Linked DNA regions of Homo sapiens: region 2 is linked to region 1. Evidence: promoter capture Hi-C in human tissues and cell types (Jung and others, 2019). All regions are on one chromosome and are shown on one strand. Each heading gives the region's core, a stretch centred on a gene start or on the middle of the fragment in contact. The rest is flanking DNA. Distances are from core to core; before and after follow the strand shown. Region 1 holds the start of FGL2 (fibrinogen like 2). Region 2 overlaps PHTF2 (putative homeodomain transcription factor 2).

Region 1 (3,942 bases), core at 537-3,036:
AAATGTTTAGGAGAAAAATAGACAATAGTCTTCATATCATGACAAGTTGCCATGCAGCATCTAATCTAATGTATACCCACTGATGTCACCTAAGCGGTGAACCTTGGATTCGCAGTGTGCCAGGTACATTCAGATGCAGGCTGCCAGGAGTATTACCAATAGAGGTCCTTGAAAATATGACCCTTCCCTCCTTCACTGGCAGATGCCCTGGGGATGGAGCATGCCTGAGATACTGTCTCTAAATGAAAGTGATCTCCGCCCTGTCCTTTCAACCTCACGTTCATGGTAAGTAGAGGTCCAAATGCGGAGATGGCTTTCCAAAGTATGAGACAGTCAGCAACAGTGGTCCCAGTGACTCAGGTGAAAAGCCAAGGTTTGGAGAGTCAATACCACTGTTAGTTCGTGGGTGGAGTAGGCGATTAAGTCTGTGGAATTTCACATGTATTTATTAAAGTTAATTCAAGTAATTTGGATGGTGAGGATGGGTTCTACTTCTATCTGCTTGAATTCTAACTTCAGGTAAAAGAGAAAGAAATATGAATACCTTCCCTTAGTGGCATGCTAAAACTCTCCCCTTAAAATATTTTTTGTGCCACTAGGTCTCAAAGCAAAAATTTGTGCACACATATGAAACTGCTTTTATTCCATCTGTAAACTCTCCCATTTTCTCCAGATATTTGGGATTAAGAACTAGATTACTTGCTAAAATCTTTCAAAGACCTCTTTAGCCATGAGAAGCGGCAGTCAGTCAATCACAAGAAAAACTGATTTCCAACAAACAAGGCACAATTGTGAACATCGCCTTATCTTTATTGTTTTCAAACACCTCATTGAAGAGACAAGTTAAATGCACTAAAACATCAAGAAATTCTCTCTACTTCTGCTTGCAAGTAGGTCTGGCATTAACAAATAAGATCTTAAAATTGAAAGTGACTTCCAGTGGATACAGAACTAACTATGATTTTTGTAATTAGGTCATATTTATGTGGTCATATTTGAGAAGATATTTATTTTTTCCTGTGCACCTTGATAAATAAAAGACTTAATCTGTCATCTATTTAACTTACTGACTCAGGTTAATGTTTATAGATACTCTCTAGCTGTATAACATTTATGAACATATGATAAGAAAACATTATTATACATACCTGGACGTGACTGTATTTGTTCTTGGCTGGGACACTTTGAACATTTGCCATCCAAACTATTGACAACAAATGTTAGATTTGCCACTTTGCTGTCAACATAATTTTCTATGTTGTTCATATTTACAAGATTCAGCTTCTCCAGGCGACCATGAAGTACATTGATCTCCTCTTTGGCATTCTTTAGCTCAGAGGACAGCTTGTTAACCTCACTCTCTAATTCTCTAACTCTGTTATCACCAACCTCTCCCGGGGCTCCTGTACTGGGTAACAACAGTCCGTTTCTGCCTGGGTCTCCGTTGTCATCAGCCTGCAGCTTGCAGTCTTGGCAAGATTTCTTTAGACTATTTACGATTTCCTTGAGGTTTTGGACTTCTTTGAACACCTCCTCGATCCTGCTGAATTGCTTCGGGAGCTGAATAGTCAAGGGGGGCAGGCTTACCTGGTAGGGGCACTCCCCTGCCTCTTCGCATTTCCCTCTGCTTTCTAGTCTCACTGGGCAGACATCCTTTGCTCTTTCATCTTTAATTTCCTCTGTTTCATTGTTTGCCACAACCAAAAAACCGTAAGTGGCAAGAACAGCTGAGCTCAGCCAGTACCAGTTAGCCAGCTTCATCTTTACAGTGCTGCTCACCCCAGCAGGGAGTGCGCAGGGCTGGAGCTGCTTTAATAGCGGCAGCTGCCTGAGTCAGGCTTTCTGTGTTCCCAGGAAAGGGTGGGAGCGTTTGCATCACAAGTTTTAGAAACGCACAGGAAGAGGAGATAGCCCTCATCAAACGCAGTTTGCCAAAAACTGTAACTTACTCTCAATAGAAATAATATGCATTGAAATTATTATAGTCAAATGTACACAGCCAACAAGATTCACTTTCATAATGTATTTTATGAAGTATAAGAAAAGTCTTGCATTTCTAAAGTAATTTGGTATACTTACGCTTGAAGTAAATAATTATACGTAACTTCACTGGAAAAACAGTTTTTAAAGATAAAAAGTAAGAGCTAGTTATCCAAACTGTCTATAGAACAGAAACGTTACTAAAATGAAAATGGTCCTTTTTCCTTCTTAGAATGGGGCATTGGGGAGCCTGTATTTTCTTCATGTTGGACTTTCAGGTGAAATCTTAAGCACTTTTAGAAGTTTCTAAGTGTAACAAAGTACAGCTTTCTGACTATTGCAGTTGACTTTTGCTTCATCTACTTGAAAAAGAGAAGAAAACTAGTGGAGAAAAAAGTGCTACTTTCTATTCCTTTGTCCGTAGCATAGTGTATATTAATGTCTAAATGTCTAAGACCCATTTAAAAGGACATAATTGTCTTTCATCAAAACCAGTAGCTGCCTCCTTTGCCCTTCGACATTTTGGTAATTGTACTGTCATCTTCCACAGCTGCTCAAATGTGAATCTTTGAGCTATGCCAGTGTCTGTCCTGAACTTCTCTTGCCTACAGCATCTTTGCCCTTTCTTTCTGCAGGTAGCCCTGGCAGGCGGGCCTCTTGCTTTCTGTCTCCACGCTGGTTCTTCTACCTGCTCTCTGGGCCACTTGGTATATCAGCTTGTTCAAAACATGTAGCATTAATGATAATAGTTTTCTAACTTTCTCTTCAGAGGCTGAAGGCAGGAAAGAGGAACAGCTTCAGTTAGAGAAACCACCTCCTTTTAATTTGTTTTGCATATTGACATCTCATAAGATTTCTTGTTTAAAAAGGGTTTTTTTGCTTTAAAAATAATTTCAAAATGACTGACATGGGCAAAAATCTAAATGTTTTATTGTATTACTTAAAACACTCTGTAGCCTATCTCATATTTATGTCTTTAACCTGATTTCCTATGACTTTTCTGTATATCCCCTTAATTTTAGCCAAATCCTATTCACATTCTCAAAATGTTGGCAGACTCTTTACTCTTCCATGACTGTATTTATTCTCGCATACTCAGGAGACCTGGCTTCCAACCCTAGATCTACCTCTGATCATGTAAACAGATCATCAGCTTTAATGAGCCTTTGTTCCTGTAGCTGTAGCGGAGGAATTTAGCTATTTCTTCCCTCATACAGGAATGATAGTCATGCAAACTTGGAGCACTTGGCTGGGCGTGGTGGCTCACGCCTGTAATCCCAACACATTGGGAGGCCGAGGCATGTGGATCACCTGAGATCAGGAGTTTGAGACCAACCTGGCCAACATGGTGAAACCCCATCTCTACTAAAAATACAAAAAAAAAAAAAAAAATTAGCCAGGTATGGTGGCGTGTGCCTGTAATCCCAGCTACTCGGGAGGCTGAGGCAGGAGAATCACTTGAACCCAGGAGGTGGAGGTTGCAGTGAGCCTAGATCGTACCACTGCACTCCAGCCTGGGCAATAAGAGTGAAACTCCATCCCCCAGCCCCACCCCTCACAAAAAAAGAAAAAAAAAACTTAGAGCACTTAAGAAAAAAAAAAATGCAGTGTATAAATGTAACATTCTTCCCAAATAAATTTGTCAAACATGTTCTACACACCTTATGACTTTTTTTCTTCCATCTTCATATAGCTCTTTCAAAAATTGTTTTTCTCTTCATTCCATTCAATATATCCAATTTTAGACAAAAACTTTTTAGCTAAAAATATCTATTTAATCCCCTAACTCCTAACCTCATTTCTTCTCACCTATTTTCAAGCTGTGACACTTCCCTGTTGGGAGGTAAGAAATAAATGAAACAATAGATAATTTTAAAAAGGAGACATGATGACAACATAGATAAAAAAAAAAACCATTTTGTAAAGTAGAAATATATAGGAATGATATTTAGTTCCTAGTCC
Region 2 (3,942 bases), core at 726-3,225, 630 kb after region 1:
TTAAAGTCAAGGCGGACTATCCTGAGATTGCCACAAAACACTGAAAAGTCTGTTTCCATTTCTAACATCGTATCTTTGTGAAGCAGGGTTTTCTGTAGTATAGTTAACAGCAACCAAAATGAGATTATGGAATAGACTGGACATAAACAATACACTTTGGGTGTCACTGTCTTCCATCATCCCCAGATGGGACCATCTAGTTGCAGGAAAACAAGCTCAGGGCTCCCACTGATTCTATGTTATGGTGAGTTGTATAATTATTTCATTATATATTATAATGTAATAATAATAGAAATAAAGTATACAATAAATGTAATGCTCTCGAATCATCCCAAAACCATCCCCCCTACCCTGGCCATGGAAAAATTGTCTTCCACAAAACCAGTCCCTGGTGCTAAAAAAGGTTGGGGACTGCTGCAAGTAAGAGATAGATAATAACTAATAATAAAATAGGACAATCGTAACAGTATACTCTAATGAAAAGTTATGGAATTTGGTCTCTGTCTCCAAATATTTTACTGTACTGCAGTTACTGCAGTAACTGAAATGTGGAAAGCAAAGCCTTGGATAAAGGGAGTGCTACTCTAAGGGGAACACAGAACAGGATGAGAAATATTAAATGGAAGAATTTGGGAGAAACTTATGGAGAAAGTGGAATTTTGGAAGTCTTGTCAAAATCTTCCTTGTTTTAGAAAGAGAAGTGTTAATTTTGGCACAGAGGTAGAAAAATGTTGAAAGTATGGGATGGTTGAAACAAGACATATGAGAAGATGATGAGCAATAATGTTGGACAATTAAGGTCAGATTGTAGAGAGTCTAAATACTTGTGGATTTTATTTTGTAAGCAGCAGAGAATGATACAAGGTTGTTGGAATGGAATAATAATATGAGAGTCTGAGGAGATTTATAAAAACTACCTTTAAAAAATTAAAAGCTCTTTAGGGCCAAGCGCAGTGGCTCACACCTGTAATCCCAGCACTTGGGGAGGCTGAGGTAAGAAGATTGCTGAAGACAGCAGTTCAAGACCAGCCTGGGCAGCATAATGAGACTCCATCTCTCTCTACAAAAGATTTAAAAAATAGCCTAGTTTGGTGGCATGCAACTTTTTGTGTGATATACTTCTCAGCAGGATGTGCATGAGGATATGTTATGTGCCCTTTTGTTGCTGAGTCTAGCTACTTGGGAAGCTAAGGCAGGACAGTCACCTGAGCCCAGGAGTTTGATGTTACAGTGAGCTATGATCAAGCCACTGCACTTCAGTCTGGGTGACAGTGAGACCCTATCTCTAAAAATAAATTAAATAAGATATTTTTTATTTAGTTTAACAGTTTCTACTATGTTAAATTCCATATATGTAACACTAATTTAAGTAGTAATATTAATGTTTTTGGGTGTGTTAGAATTCAGAGAAACTTCTGTACATTATTGGAATTGGTGACCTGAAAGGAAGAAGCTGGAGCAAAATTAATACAATTAGAGGGTTTATTTGAATCAAGCTTGAGGATTGCAACTGGGAGCACAGATTTGAGTTGCTCTGAATATACCCTCTGATTAGCAGCAGTTAAAAGTGCATTTTTCCAGCCTGGACAACATAGCCAGACCTCGTGTCTGCTAAAATTAAAAAAAATTAGCCAGGCATCATGGTACATGCCTATAGTCACAGCTATTTTGGGGGCTGAGGCAGAAGGATCACTTGAGCTGGGAAGTCGAAGCTGCCGTGAGCCCTGATCGTGCCACTGCACTCCAGCCCGGGCAACTGAGTGAGACCTTGTCTCAAAAAAAAAAAAAAAAAAAAAAATTTTAAACGGAAGGAAGAAGCAGTTCCTGAGTTGTTTACTGAGAATTTATGTTAAAATAACATAAACTGTTGATTGGCTATACATTGTTCTTTGTATCACAAATTCCAGAAACATGAAGATAAATGAGTGAGGCAGCTAGTCAGGAAGAAAATGACTTTAAACAGTTGCCCCCAGGCTTGGGTGTAGGGGCTTGACTCAAGTCCTATACTCACGTGTCTGTGCTTGCCTACCTCACATGGCTCAGACTGCTCGGAGCTCTTTTTCTTTTCACACAATTGTTATTTAACCTTTATTGAGTTGTGGAATATCTGGCTAGATGGCACTTGGGGAAAACTGAGGTCCAGAGAACTCAGTAACTTATTCAAGAGCACACAGCTCTTAGTATCAGAACTTGGATCTAGAACCCAATTATCTTGATGCTTAGTCATTGCTTTTTATCTGCTGTACTTCCTGTACCATATATTACAGTGTACTGAGTACTTAGAGACAAAGAATGTTGCCACATTTTTTCCTTAAGAGTGTTTACATATGACCAAGTGACCTGTGTGGCCACATACTGCTTTACATTTCTATTTAAATTACAGATTTTTGAGCATATGTTGGTGCTAGAAGAGAGACATTAAGCTTCAGCATTTTTTAGTCCAAAGGAAAGCTGGCCGGGTGCGGTGGCTCATGCCTGTAATTCCAGCACTTTTGGAGGCCGAGGCGGGCGGATCACCTGAGGTCAGGAGTTCGAGACCAGCCTGGCCAACAGGGTGAAACCCTGTCTCTACTAAAAATACCAAAAATTAGCCAGGCGTGGTGGTGGGCGCCTGTAGTCCTAGCTACTGAGGAGGCTGAGACAGGAGAATTGCTTGAACCTGGGAGGCGGAGGTTGCAGTGAGCCGAGATCACACCATTGCACTCCAGCCTGGGCAACAAGAGCAAAACTCCGTCTCAAAAAAAAAAAAAACAAGAAAAAAAAAAGAAAGCTTCATCTTGGAGGAAGTAGGATTTGAGCTGATTTAGAAGGATGTATGAGTGGAGAAAAGAATGGAATAGGAATAATAATAACACACGCAAAGTGTCAGGGGTGGAAATACATTGTTTTCTGAGCCTAGTGAGAGTCATGCCAGAACAGACAAATTTGTTTCAGAATAATGAGAGATGTACATGGTAACATTTATGTAGTATTTGATAGAATTTCTGTAACATGGGGATTGGTTAAAAATCTGACAATGTGGGAGACCATATTTGTACAAAGAATACTCATAGGCATTATTATACTGTTGACCCTTGAACAATTGGGGTTAGGGATACTGACCCCTGTGCTGTGGAAAATTTGGCTGTAACTTTTGAATCCCCCAAAATTTAACTACTAATAGCCTACTGTTGACAGGAAGTCTTACTAATAACATAAACAGATAACACATATTTTATATGTTATATGTTTATATACTGTATAATTACAATAAAGTAAGCTAGAGAAAAAGTGTTATTAAATTGTAAAGAAGAGAAAATAGGCCGGGCACAGTGGCTCACACCTGTAATACCAGCACTTTGGGAGGCTGAGACGGGAGGATCACCTGAGGTCCGGAGTTTGAGACCAACCTGACCAACATGGAGAAACCCTGTCTCTACTAAAATTACAAATTAGCCGGGTGTAGTGGCGCATTCCTGTATTCCCAGCTACTCGGGAGGTTGAGGCAGGAGAATCGCTTGAACCCTGGAGGCAGAGGTTGCGGTGAGCTGAGATCACGCCATTGCACTCCAGCCTGGGTAACAAGAGCGAAAACTCCATCTCAAAAAAAAAAAAAAAAAAAGAAGAGGAAGAAGAAGAGAAAATACATTTACTATTCTTTAAGTGGAAGTGGATCATGATAAAGGTCTTCATCCTTGTCATCTTCACACTGAATAGGTTGAAGAAGAGGAGGGGTTGGTTTTCCCTTCCTGGATAGCAGAGGCAGAAGAGGTAAAGGAGGTGAAAGGGGAGGCAGGAGTATCAGGCACACTTGGTATAACTTTTATTGAAAAAATCCACATGTAAGCGGACCAGCGCAGCTTACCCACCATGTTGTTCAACTGTATTTGATTGAGATTCCGTAAAGGCAGACTTAACATACCATCTCTTCTGTACTCATCTTTTCCCACCACCCTGGTCTTT

Evidence for each region. Contacts are between HindIII fragments. The study calls those that stand out against the background at their distance.
Region 2: a contact is called between a fragment that was not itself captured here and the fragment with the promoter of FGL2 in region 1, in 1 of the 25 tissues and cell types used here (IMR-90 fibroblasts).

Annotation. Positions count from the first base shown.
Region 1 is chr7:77,198,033-77,201,974 of GRCh38, forward strand. FGL2 (fibrinogen like 2) reads right to left here and starts at 1,787. Exons shown (of 2, transcript NM_006682.3): 1 at 1,149-1,787. The coding sequence starts at 1,761. All of the region lies in intron 2 of CCDC146 (coiled-coil domain containing 146), which reads left to right. RefSeq lists a silencer at 1,378-1,487. The HindIII fragment of the contact is 7,307 bases long and covers 1-3,942 here.
Region 2 is chr7:77,832,538-77,836,479 of GRCh38, forward strand. The region is part of intron 1 of PHTF2 (putative homeodomain transcription factor 2); the gene reads left to right. Among named protein-coding and RNA genes, the nearest start is that of PHTF2, 36 kb to the left of the region's middle. RefSeq lists an enhancer at 2,380-2,880. The HindIII fragment of the contact is 4,552 bases long and covers 1-3,942 here.